Regions from separate parts of the Homo sapiens genome. Here all the other regions are linked to region 2. Evidence: promoter capture Hi-C in 16 types of primary human blood cells and fetal thymus (Javierre and others, 2016). All regions are on one chromosome and are shown on one strand. The core of a region is centred on a gene start or on the middle of the fragment in contact, and the rest is flanking DNA. Distances in the headings are between cores, read along the strand shown.

Evidence for each region. The method cuts DNA at HindIII sites, captures the fragments that hold promoters and counts their contacts. A CHiCAGO score of 5 or more calls a contact.
Region 1: a contact is called between a fragment that was not itself captured here and the fragment with the promoter of G3BP1 in region 2, in 3 of 17 cell types (fetal thymus, naive CD8 T cells and total CD8 T cells). The highest score is 7.5, in fetal thymus.
Region 3: a fragment that was not itself captured here is called in contact with the fragment with the promoter of G3BP1 in region 2 in 1 of 17 cell types (M2 macrophages); the score reaches 8.0 in M2 macrophages.

What each region holds. Positions count from the first base shown.
Region 1 is chr5:148,390,451-148,394,562 of GRCh38, reverse strand. The region is part of intron 1 of FBXO38 (F-box protein 38); the gene reads right to left. Among named protein-coding and RNA genes, the nearest start is that of FBXO38, 8.5 kb to the right of the region's middle. The HindIII fragment of the contact is 700 bases long and covers 2,426-3,125 here.
Region 2 is chr5:151,770,590-151,774,745 of GRCh38, reverse strand. G3BP1 (G3BP stress granule assembly factor 1) reads right to left here and starts at 2,792. Exons shown (of 12, transcript NM_005754.3): 1 at 2,710-2,792. It overlaps LOC100652758 (a long non-coding RNA gene), which reads left to right and starts at 2,570. Exons shown (of 2, transcript NR_132345.1): 1 at 2,570-3,043; 2 at 3,974-4,156. RefSeq lists silencers at 2,166-2,235, 2,286-2,615 and enhancers at 2,824-3,118, 3,376-3,605, 3,984-4,156. The HindIII fragment of the contact is 14,997 bases long and covers 887-4,156 here.
Region 3 is chr5:154,875,163-154,879,486 of GRCh38, reverse strand. It overlaps CNOT8 (CCR4-NOT transcription complex subunit 8), which reads right to left. Exons shown (of 7, transcript NM_001301073.2): 7 at 2,695-4,197. The coding sequence ends at 4,048. It overlaps LOC124901119 (a long non-coding RNA gene), which reads right to left and starts at 728. Exons shown (of 2, transcript XR_007059011.1): 1 at 395-728. The HindIII fragment of the contact is 297 bases long and covers 2,527-2,823 here.

The sequences.
Region 1 (4,112 bases), core at 1,526-4,025, 3.4 Mb after region 2:
CAAAAAGCACAGAACATCTTTTTCTCAAGATGAGTGGATAATCAACTTCTGAAGATAATATAAATATGCATTACTTAGAAAGAGCAAAAATCCAGGAATCATGAGTATTGTGCTTTAATTTGTACTGTTGCTTCTTAGCTTATTCACTCAATTTCTCCAAGTATCAATTTCTTCATATGTAACGTGTGATCATTAAATGAGGAATCAAAACCTCTTCCAGCTCCAGGAGCTTGTGGTTCTTTCTAGGACTGACCCTAACATAGTGGAAAGGAGAAGAGATTCTTGGGTTCTAATCTTGATTCTGCCCCAAATTATTTCTATAAACTTGCATCAATCTTTAAAATTCTTCATTCTCTCACCTATAAAGTCAGAGATTAGATTAGTCATGGACCCCTTTGTGAATCTGATAAAAACTAGAGAACTCCTAAAAAATAAACACAAGCTTATATACAACTTCAGAGAAAGAATGAAACATCCCTTCTCCCTCTCTTGTGAATATTGACATGGTATTTCACTTTTGCATCACATGCATATTTTGTTTTTAAAATAAGCTTTAGAGAAGGATGAAAAGAGAAAGAAAAGAGGGGAGAGAGGAGGAATGGAGAGGGAAAGCAGGGAGAAAATGGGTTGCATGAGCACCCAGATGGTTTTCTGTTCTATTGATCAGCATGTGGAGTTAACACCTTGATTGTCAAATTGTCTAGGAATATTTTAATAATGTTGGTACAGATATAGGGAAGTTTATAGGAAATATTGGTCTCTTTTATATTAATGGCTTTGTAGATGGAGGAGGCACAGGATGACAGCTGAAAAGAGGTGCATTCAGATTCATTTAAATATGCCTTGGCACATTTATTTTGAATACCACTTATGTACTCTGGGCCCATTGTAAACAAACGGCCCAGAGTTAAGTGGAGATACACAATTAAATAACCACGCAAATGAGCTCAGAATTGCACACGGAGATAACTGCTGCAAAGACAGTAAACACAGTTGTGAAGCCTCATATAACAAAGGGGCCTGAGTCACTAATGGTTCTCCTGAGGGAAAGACAATTGAGCCCATAACTGAAGGGAGAGCAGGAATTAACACTGCAAAAAGTAGGAAAGAACTCACTAGGAGAAAGGCACCTGGTGGGCAGAGGGTACTTTAAGTATATGCAGTTCCTGAGGTTTTTTTTGCCTCAGCAGTAAATGGACACTCTACTAGGCTAAGTAAATCTTCATCATTTCTTCTGCCTGTGTGTGTGTGTTCTGGTCTCTTCTTCCCTCACTGAAAGGTTATGTGCTATTTACTTCTTGAGGCTGTCAGCATGCTTGCCTCTCATCACACACACACACACACACACACACACACACACACACACACACACACCCCTCTTCTGTTGTTTCTAACCAGTACGGCCTGAGAAACCAGAGAAATCAATGTGTGTGGACTGGTATATGGGCTATGCTACCCTGAATTTGTGACATGTGTCTTAACTTCTCAGAAGCTTACTCCTATGTTGTCTATCACATTTTGGCTAAGAGGCCTCCGGAAAAATAAAGTTCATACTCAGAACTGCCCAAGCTAAAAGAAAAGCTATAAATAAACTCACCTGCTTCTGATTAACCACTGCCCACCTTTTCTTGTTTACTGCCCTGCCTCCTCCAAATGAATCTTTCCATCTTATGATAGCTCCTGAAACCTCTAAGGTTACATTGAACATGTAGTCAACAAATCCAATAGCCTCTTTCCAGTGCTTCCCCATCTGACCCATTTGTATTATGGGACACCGCTGACCACTCCTTTGAAACCCTCTCATCCTTTGGCTCCGAAAGTGATATTCTCGATTCTTGTCGTTCCTCTATGACCACTGCTCAGTCTCCTTTGCTAATTTATCCTCGAGCCCTCTTCTCCCTGGGCAATTGTACTCATTCCCAAGGATTTAGCTATTACAAATACACACACACACACACACACACACACACACACACACACAAAGAAAAGCAAAAAAAGAAAAAATTTCCAACTCTACTTCTTACCTCTCCTGAGCTCTGAACTTTATTTCCTCTGCCTATCAGAAATTTTCACCTCAATAACTTGAACATCCTTCAAAAACACTATGTTCAAAATGAACTCCTTCATATCACGAACCCTCCCCCTCCCCAAAACAAAGATACACAGATATATACAAATAAACACACCTATTTCCCTAATGTGTTTTACTGAATTCCTGAATTGTAAACCTTGAAATCATCCTAAATATATTCTGATTTCTCATTTCCCACAGACAATTGATGGGCTATTTTTATCAATTTTATCTCAATACAGTTCTTACATCCATTCCCATTACCTTTTGGGACTCCATTAACATTCACGTGCACTACGGAAATGGCTTCCTAAATGATACCCATCACTGTATCCTCAGGGTCGAGGAAAAGCTTAGCAGACACTATGCCTGCCATAAGTAATTTATTGAATAAATGCTTACCATGCTATACTCTATACTGAAGCCAGTTATCTTTTTAAAACAGTCTCCTGATTTATAGTGTTAAGTGAAAAAAGCAAAACACAGACTACATCTAAAGTATGATTCTAACAACAACATAATTTTAAAAATTAAAAAGATTACCCCCTAAAACTTTTTTTAAAAAGTATGATAAAAAAGACAAATATACTGTGTCTGCATACAACATTTTATGAAAGAAGACAACAAAATATTAACCGGTAACCTTTGAGGAGTGATAACAGAGGTTTAGGAAAGCAGAAAAAAACTTTTACTTTTCACTTCATATTATTCTCCATCATTTGAAATTTTCAGATTGTTTTTAAGAAGTACAATATACATGGCCAAGCAAAACAAAACAATCGGCCTACAAGGAATCCTGGTTCAGAGGATAAAATATTTCCAATCTAATCTCAAAACACCAGATGTTCCAATCTTATCTTCTTCCAATCCTTACCACTTGCTCTCAGTATACTCACTCTAGCAGACCAGTATCTTCTTAGTTCCCCCAAACAACCATTGGTGTTTCATTCCTAATATGCTTTTAACTCTGACTGGAAATGTCCTTCTTTTCCCTACTTTGCCTAGAAAACTGCCTGTAAAAATCTAGCTTAAATGTAAGTCCTCTGTAAAAGCTTCCCCTACTGACTCCTTCATTTGAGCTCCCTGTGGGACTTAACATATGCTTCCACAGCAGTTTGTGTAGTGATTTATTAGTCATGTTTCTGCTAAAAAATCTTGCCTCTAGGTGACAACAAGTCCTTGCTCACAATATATCCTCAAATATCTAATGTATGAATATCCACCAGTCTTTCCATTATTCTATATACATCCAGTAGCTTCGAGGCTGCTGCTAAAAACCATTTCATGCTCTTATGAGACGTTTGCTACCACAGCATTCAATGATCTCAGCAACAAACTTATAACCTAGACAATAATGCAATCAGATTTTACTGCAGTGACACACCTAACAGCTACTCTGTAGCATGTAAAAGCCTCAACAGGACGATTAACCAGCAAAGACTAATCCACCCACAAATTACCTAGATGCTCAGACCAATCCACCAGTTGTTATACTTTAGCACATGTTCAGCTTTAAGAATCTTGACAATCCTTCATCGAGATGATGCTCGATTCTTTATTCCTTTAATAAAAAGCTTTTTTTTAATCCCTTCTTCCTCCTTTTTCTTCCTCAAATTCACACCACCTAATAACACCTTCCTCTACTGATTCCACCTTTGATTGTTCCTTAGGATTCTGCAATGTGGTGCTTTTGTGTGAATTAGATTTAGTAGCCCTAGTGCACAAACTATACGTAAATTTTTAGACTAAATACCCTGCACCTTAAATATCATTGAGTTTATAAAACTCCACTTATTGAGAGTTAACAAATATTTACTCACAGAAATGATGTTATACAATATTATACTGAGGTTAGATCTCCAGGAAGCTGACAAAAACCTTCTTAACCTACAATATCCTTTAACACTAACTAGCAAAAAGCCTAAATTTTAAATTAGCAGGACTGACAAAATTTTAGGTAAAACTATTCCTGTTTCTTACATCACGGCTAGAATTGAAGACTTGGGTCTTTTAGTTCTTACCAGGCAGGTGAATAGTGAGG
Region 2 (4,156 bases), core at 1,543-4,042:
GGGCGGGCGAGGCTTTCCTTTTTTTTTTTGACCTACCTACTTCCACAATTATCCATTCTTCTTTGTAAAGTCAGTAATAGTTTCGTCCAAGGAAGCCAAAGCACAATATAATTAAACAAACATACAATGCCTATTTAAATTCTGAAAGTTAAAAAAAAAATCAATTTGCAAAATGTTAAAAGACCAAGTGGGCAGTTTTATCAGACTGACAAAAATAAAGAAAAAAAATATAAAATTGGCTTTAGTCACAAATGTAAGCTTTATGTTAAATTTTATCTTTTAACACTAGCCCCATCAGTCCTAAGGACGATATAAAATTCACAAACTTTTACAAAAACTTAAAACTGCCTTCTGCCGTTCACTTTCTATGCAAAATACTAGAACGAGTGGGAAAAAAAAAAACCATAAGTTACAAAAGAAAAACTGCTCTAAGTAGGTCACAAACAAACATTACCAAAATCTCCTAATGTTCCCCTGGTGCAGTGTCAGCTCAGGAACAGCAAACTGAGTTAAACAAAGAACTGTCTACTTTTCTACCTGTAAGAGGTACAAAAGCTTAGACTTTTGTACCGGTAAGCAGCTCCAACAAAACTGACGTATGACTTGGTAGGGATGTAGGGCAGCCTTGCCAAGCCTTACATTACCACAATTTGCTTCAATTCACTTGTTCCTGATAAATGCACAAGTAATCAGTTAGAGCACCAGTTTGTGAAATAATCACGTAATTTTCATGTTCCTGCCCAAGTGATAACCATTTGCCTGAGGCCAAGAACTGTATTTTTTTAATATTTTAAGTAGAAACTAACGAAATTTTCCCTCAATAATGTGTAAGGTAATTTCATTCTATTTTGCCTCAAGCAGTAATAAAATTAGCTGGACTCAAGCTTAAACAGTTTAAATGTAGGTCATTCTAGTGTTTTTCCATTTGACAACTTAAATTGCTCAACTTTAAGTCTAAGTTAAAATGCTAATTCCATAGTTAACCAGTCTGTAAGGGCAAGTAACCGGAATCGCCACACCAGCAAAGTTCCAAGTAAATGTTACTTGGAACATTATTATAATACTGTTATAGAAACATGTTTATAGAAAGGGTTTCCAGAACACGATTATAGAAATCTTTATGTTTATAGAAGTGTTTCTATAACATAGAAGATTTATTTCACTAAGCCAAGGAGTATGTTGGCTTTTAAATAATCTAAAAGATGGTAACTACTAGAAAAATATAAGCTCCAGTCCCTGAAGAAAAGCATCTTGTTTCTGCATATACACAAGAACCCAGCAGAGTAAATGCTAAATAAACGGAGTGTACACAAACTTTCATCCACAGATCTCGACTGTCACAGTTGTTTTTTCCAACACATCTCCAACACCAGTAATTCATCCAGCATGACACGCTCCACAGAGGTCCAAATAGTATACTGTAACTGGGCGCCAACCTTTCTATTCCAATTCCGTATTTTAACCCACAGATGCTAGTGAGATCTTAAATTCGTCGCTTTGCACCTCATTCCCTTCAACTATAAAGTGAATCTTCTCAAGGTCTTTCTGCAAAAGTCTCCTCCAATTAAAAAAAAAGTAGAGAAAAAAAAATTCAACGTCTAAAACCGGAGCCTAACTTCCCGCTGGCGGGAATTTCCCATCAGCAATCTGAGATTCAAACCCGATGAGGAACACAGTCCATGTTCATTTGCACTTACTCATCGTTTTCCCTACTTTTTTCCAGAAGCTACGGTGGCGGCACATCTACCCAGGGCCTGTACAAGTACACGTAGAAAGGAAGCCCAAACCCTTTTCCTTTGTCACATTCCCACTTCCAACCCTTGTCTCCCTGGAAGCCCAGAACTAGCCCAAGTACAAATGCCGCTGCAGCCTTCTCGGCAGGTGGCCTTTTGAGGCTGATGCTGCCCCGAGGGACAAGTGCTCTGGGGGCAAAGACTAAAAACAGGCTTGGGAAGCGGGGAGCTCGGAGTCAGAGGGCCCGGCGTCAACAAATCCCCGCCCTTCCCGTGCGTGCCTGTGACCCCGCTCTCCAAACCCGTGCCTTGGGCCGCTAAGGAAGGAGGATAGCCGTACCCACCTCGCCAGCTCACTGCAAGAATCAAATGAAAGGCAGAAAAGTGGCTCCGCACAGTGCCGGACACACAGTGAGGGCGTGGAAAGAACATTGGTTGTTACTACCACTCCGTGCACTCGCTGCTCCCTCTTTGCTCTCTGCAAAACCGAAGGCGCTTCTGCGACGCGCGGACCGCAAGACTCCAATCAGACTTTAGTGCTGCCCCCACCCTAAACGAAAGCCTCCTTCTGGTCCGAACCGACTGGATCCCTTGGCCAGGGGAGGAAAAGGTGCCGCGGGCGCGTGGCGGAGAGGGTGGCGGGCGGGAAACGCTGGGCGCGGGACCCCTGGCCCCAGAGACCGCCCTGGGGCCCAGGCGGCGGCCGCGGCTTACTCCTGCCCCGCGAGGCCGTTGGACGCAGCACGCGCACGCGGCGGACACGGCCACGCGCCCCAGCCGGGACGGGAGCGGGAGCGAGGAGCCGCCGCGCGCCCGTCCGTCCGCCGCGCGCGCCTGCGGCCGTTGGGGTGGGGGTTGGGGTGGGGGACGCGACTGGCGCGGCCGCCGCGAGCGCCACTCAGACTTCTCCCTCTCACAAGTGCTGCGGCTCGGCTTAGTCCTCTGGCCTCCCTGCCCCGCCCACACCCCGGCGTACCTACGCGGCTGAGCTGGAGAGGAACTAGCTCTGCACCACAGCACCGAGGATAGTACAAACCCCTCACGCAACTGCGTCCGCACACACGCGTGCTCCGCCGCCGGTCTATATAACTGCCACTCACCCTAACTTGTTGCGGCCAGGTCGGGCGACGGGATGACCAATCCCGACCGCGTCCTCAGGGCTCTTCGAACAGTAATTGGGCACTGACTCGGGGATGAAGGCGTGGCTCTTGATTGGCTTTGACTCCTGCCTATGAGACTGTGAGGATCTCGTTTCCCTAGTAACAGATCGGCACTAAGAGAGACCAATAACCGAAAAGTACAATAGAAAGGCGAGTGAGCAGTTCTTTGACTGATACTCAAAGTAGCCAATAAATGTGTGGGGCTGCTCTTATTCGTTAACACGTCTTCCCCTGGGCGGAGATCCGTTTTCCATGCAGGAGCGGTTGCGCCACAAGGTGGGGCCCGTGTACTTTGGGGAAGTAAACCCCTAGCAACTAGGAGGCGGGCGTCCGAGAGGCCAAGACAGCCTGTGGCCAATCGCAACGCCGGAAGGAGCTGATAGACACGGAGGTTGCTCTGCTCGGAAGAGACCGAGCCCCAGGGCCGCCGTGCCCTCTGGGCGGTTGTGAGGCTGTGCAGCCTGCGGCTTCTGCCCTCTTTCTTTCCCTGACTGGTTGGGTCCGGCCTCCGAGGCCTGTACCCCGCCTTTTCCGCATAGGTTTGTACCTGGCGAACCAACTAGTAAAGTTTCCCGGGTTGTTTTCTTTTTATTACAACTTTTTTCTTACGTGCGGCGGCCAAGGGCCTTGCTGCTCTCACCATTACTCAGCACTGCTGCGGGGCAGAGGAAGGAGGGTCGTTCCTGCGCCGCCCGCAGGCTCCCGCCGGAAGGTCGCCGGTGGAAGGCCTGAGAGTGCGCCCTTCCGCCAGGCGCTTCTTGGCGGGCGCTGCGAGGCGGCCGCGGGCGTGTGGCGAGGCTCCCTTTGTGGCAGCTGAGGCACGGTGGTCCGCGCGTGCTCCAGTGGAGTGTGGGCCCTCGCACCACGTCCCGAGCTGCACCACTATTGTTCAGCCTCGAATTGCCGCGGGTGGGGGCTTATTCTCGTCGCTACGCCTTTAAAAGGCAACTCGTCCCCTCCTCCTGGCGTTTCAGGCACTGGCGGGGCTACAACTCAAGGCTGGCCGGCCCTATTTCTATGGAAATAGCTTTGGTTCCCAGCCGTCCGGCACAGACACGCCCCGGTTTGTTCTCGTTCCAGGCATGTGACCAGGGTCTCCCGCGGAGTTTTGCTGAGAATTTTGGAAATGAAGCATGTGGAGCGCCTATGTCGGGGGAGAGAGGCCGAGCTGAAGGAGCACGGGCGCCGGCCTCGGCCTCTGGGGAGCCGGGCCCGCTCGCCTCCCTGCGCGGGGCTAGCCCGAGCCTGGAACTCGGGAGGCCC
Region 3 (4,324 bases), core at 1,426-3,925, 3.1 Mb before region 2:
TTGAGGTATTTCCCATTCTGGAAGTTTTAGGTGTTTCCCTGAGTTTCCTGAGTCTGTGTGGCTCAACCTCTTTTATGAGAGATTTCTTGCCCCCTTTTCCCTGAAGGTTCAACCCCTCCCCTGCCACTGGAGGTTTCTTGCACTCCCCTACTTTTGTTTCATCCTTCTCCGGCCACTTCCCTTATGGGAATTTGGGTCCCTCTTAGCATTGGCGGGTCGGTATAAGCCTCATGACAGGAAAGCTGCCCTAAGCCATATGAGGTGACCGTGGAACCACAGATCCGGACTGCACACTTGCTTTGCACTCAACTGTGCATCTTATTCACACACTTTCAACCTCCAGGATGTCCTGACCACCAAAGAAGTACTTCACCGCCCCCGCAGCTTTTCTTACCTTGGTGTGTGCAGAGGAGTTACCTGGTCGCCACAGTATTTGTAGGACTTTTCTTCCTTCATTGCTGAGAGTCCAGGTTTATTCGTCACACCAGGTGGGTCTTGATTCCTTATTCCTGAGGCCATTGCAATGAGGCAGCAGGACGCATCTCCTCATGAGAGGTGATCAGAGACCCTTCCCTAGAGGAGAATGGGATGCCAGATGAGCCCCCAAATAGTTGGAAATAAGAGCTCGGAGTTGCAAAGAAAATGAGCTCTCAAAAGACTTCTCAGCAAGGCAAATTTACTTCTGAGAAGGGTGCTGCCTGCAACAGTCATGATCGCAAGAGCACACTGAACAAAGGAGAAAAGTTTTTATCCCTAATGCAGCTTCTGTTTCTGTGTCCTTTCCCCATTGGCTGTAGTCGGACCACACAATGTAAGCTAACCCGATTGGCTAAAACTTGAAATTTTTCCAAATAGGGTAGATGGGGAAGAAGGGGTAGGAGTGGTAAAACTTTTCCAAACAGAGTAAACTGAAACATTTAAATGCGTAACTTGTTGTTTTTTTTTTGTTTTGTTTTTTGTTTTTTTTGAGACTGTCTCTGTTGCCCAGGCTGGAGTGCAGTGGCGCGATCTTGGGTCACTGCAACCTCCACCTCCTGGGTTCACGCCATTCTCCTGCCTCAGCCTCCCAAGTAGCTGGGACTACAGGTGCCCACCACCATGCCCGGCTAATTTTTTGTGTTTTTAGTAGAGACAGGGTTTCACTGTGTTAGCCAGGATGGTCTCAATCTCCTGACCTCATGATCCACCCGCCTTGGCCTCCCAAAGTGCTGGGATTACAAGCGTGAGCCACTGTGCCCAGCCTAAATGCGTAACTTGTAAAGAAAAGAAAGGAGGGGAGGGAGGGATTGTCCGTTAAGGCATGTTTGGGCATGTTTAGGCATGGCAAAGATGGAAAGGCTTGTTTAGAGAACAAGAATGTATCTTCTAGCAATGTGAAATGACATTAGTCGCTAAAAGAAACAAAGAAGTTTGAAGAGGAACTGACTGTTTCTGGCACCAGCTATTTGGGAGGCTGAGGCAGGAGAATTGCTTGAACCTGGGAGGCGGAGGTTGCAGTGAGCCAAGATCATGCCACTGCACTCCAGCCTGGGCGACAGAACAAGACTCTGTCTCAAAAAAAAAAAAAAAAAAAAAAAAAAAAAGAATTACAAGCCAGCACGGTGGCTCATGACTGTAAGCACTTTGGGAGGCCAAGGCAGGCAAATCACTTGAGGTCAGGAGTTTGAGACCAGCTTGCCCAACATGGTGAAACCCCATCTCTACTAAAAAAATATAAACATTAGCTGGACATGGTAGCATGCACCTGTAGTCCCAGCTACTCAGGAGGGTGAGGGTGCAGTGAGCTAAGATCATGCCACTGCACTCCAGCCTGGATGACCGAGTGAGACCCTGTCTAAACCTCGAAAGAATTACACCTTAAGTGATTCTCTTGGTTACCCTACAGTGCCATCACTTTTTGAGGATGAGCATTCACATAGACCTATATGCACTCATACACACAAAGTTCTTGCCAGTTCCAAGACTTGTGCTCTTTCTTGCTAAAGCACTACTCTAAGCTCTTAACTCTCACATGCAATGATGACCAAACCCCACACTCAACACTGAGTTCCTCAACCCTTTGAGCATTTCTCCTGACATGTAAGTAAGTCCTTAATTGTAGAAAATATTAAATGTCCTGCTTTAATTCAAATTTGGAAGGGTATCTGCATAGCGCTCACAGTCACCAGCATGCCAGGGCACCCTGGTTGAGAACCACTGACTGCTGTTTCACCAGAAATTACAGTGATAAATCTCTTGTTTTGTCAACTTCCCAGTCACAATTCCATATCTGCCCCTGTACCAGACTTCTTAAAACCCCACATATTTTGTGTCAACAGAAATGGCTGGAAACAAAGTCTTGAGCCAACTCTAGGATATCTGAAGTTCAGGTTGTTTAAAAGAATCCCACTAATTAACAAGCTAATCCACCATATATAGTGGAGTGACCCCAGGAAATATTAGACTGGTTTAATTCTATAATATTAAGACCCAACAATCTTGAGTATGAAGAGACAATTCCATTTACACAGGTGCTCGTGAAAAGCTTCCTACCAAGTGATATGTATTTTTTTTATTCCCGAACCCACCCCCCAAGTGATATTTTGTATGTAAGCCAACTTGGGGACAATGGAGGCAAGATGCTCTTATTTCACTGATGGCAAATGACCATCTTCCAGAGCCAGCAATCCATAGCTATGAAAGACCAAACCTTAATGCCAGTGGTTAAAAAGAAATCTTTATTTTACAAAATTAAAAACATAAATAGTATTTACAAGCATCTTAAATACCAGCTTATAATACTTGACATTTTCTAATCATTTCAAATTGAGTTTCCCATAAGCTTTTAAAATGCAAGACCATTCATTCACTTGAGTGAGTTACCAGTTTTTACTTCCACCAATCCAAAGTGGGTTTTGGTTTTTGAAATTGTCCATACTGTAGTCATTCAAAAAAATACAATATGCTTTTGAAATGACTAGCTTTAAAGAAAAAAGTCCTGAGCTTCCTACCCCAGTTGTGGGATATTACTCCAAAACAACTCAAGAACCCAAATTATCTTACTGCCTGATTAAATGTAACCACTCTAGCTTTTTAAAGACACATTCCTGTTACTCACATTAATCCATCTCCCTCACGTTTCAGGTTTGCTGGAAGGAAAAGTAGAGAAATAATGGAGTAGAGAAGTGGGAGAATCCAGATGACCATCTGAAATCACATTACTGAAAATACAACAGACATGACCCAAAAATCTGATCTTACTAGTTTCCTTCAGGATCAAATCCAGGATATTTTATTGTACAAAAATTTCAAATGATTTCAGATGATGCATATGTGACAGCAAACCTGAATGGCACAATGGAACACAGACTTAAAAGATGCTTCAGTGGTCAACACTCATTCTGGAGTTCTCATGAATGAAGGGTAGACAGATTCAGTAAAATTGTTTGCTTTTCAGTTTCATTATCTGGTCTTCAAATTTCAGCACAGAGCAATTCATTTCCATATAGTAATATGTAAAGAGAGACTACAAAAGTGTGAGGAAAGCAAATGTCCTCGAGAAGGGTCAGAAAAGGAAAGGAAGACTCAGTATCTACAACCCATTACCTAAGAACACCATTTTGTTCCATTTTCCCTGGAAGCCCTCACAGCTCAGCTGAGAATCAGAGTAAGAATCTTCATTATCAGAGATTAGCAACAAATTTAAAAGAAAAAGAATGACAACAGGTAAGAGTTATATACATTTTACTACTTTGTTTCAGACTTGTCCTGATATTTAAAAAGGTGTCAAATGAGCCATGGATGCTGGTGGCAGGAGGCAACCAGAGAGGAGAGGCTCGAGTATGAGGAATGGGGAAGACTTATTTACAAATTCAGAGCAAACTCCTCTCTTCTGGGTCTAAAATAAAAACATCTTTTGTCTTCAGTAAAACAAAAGTCTTTCTGCTCAATGCAGATGGTAGGTACAGTGTGCTCAAAAGAAGCATTTTCTCTTGGGGAAGATAAGTACACAGTCAGCACAGTAAGCACCACTCTGGGATCAGGCCCACCCTGCAGAGCCTGGCGCCATCACTGCTGCATGTTGTTGATAATCGCCAGGATGCTCATCTTCTCCTGGGCAGAGTCCACATCCTCATTCTGCTTCTGGGCCACTCCTGTGCCTAAGCCATAGAGCCGCCCACAGTACTTGGCATCATCAATGCTGTCCTCAAAAAACAACTGCAGAATGGGACAGAGAACCATGGTGAGAGTTATGCTAGAAGTCATGACAAGTATAAATATTATCACATCTGGCCGGGTGCAATGGCTCACGTCTGGAATCCAAGCACTTTGTGAGGCTGAGGCG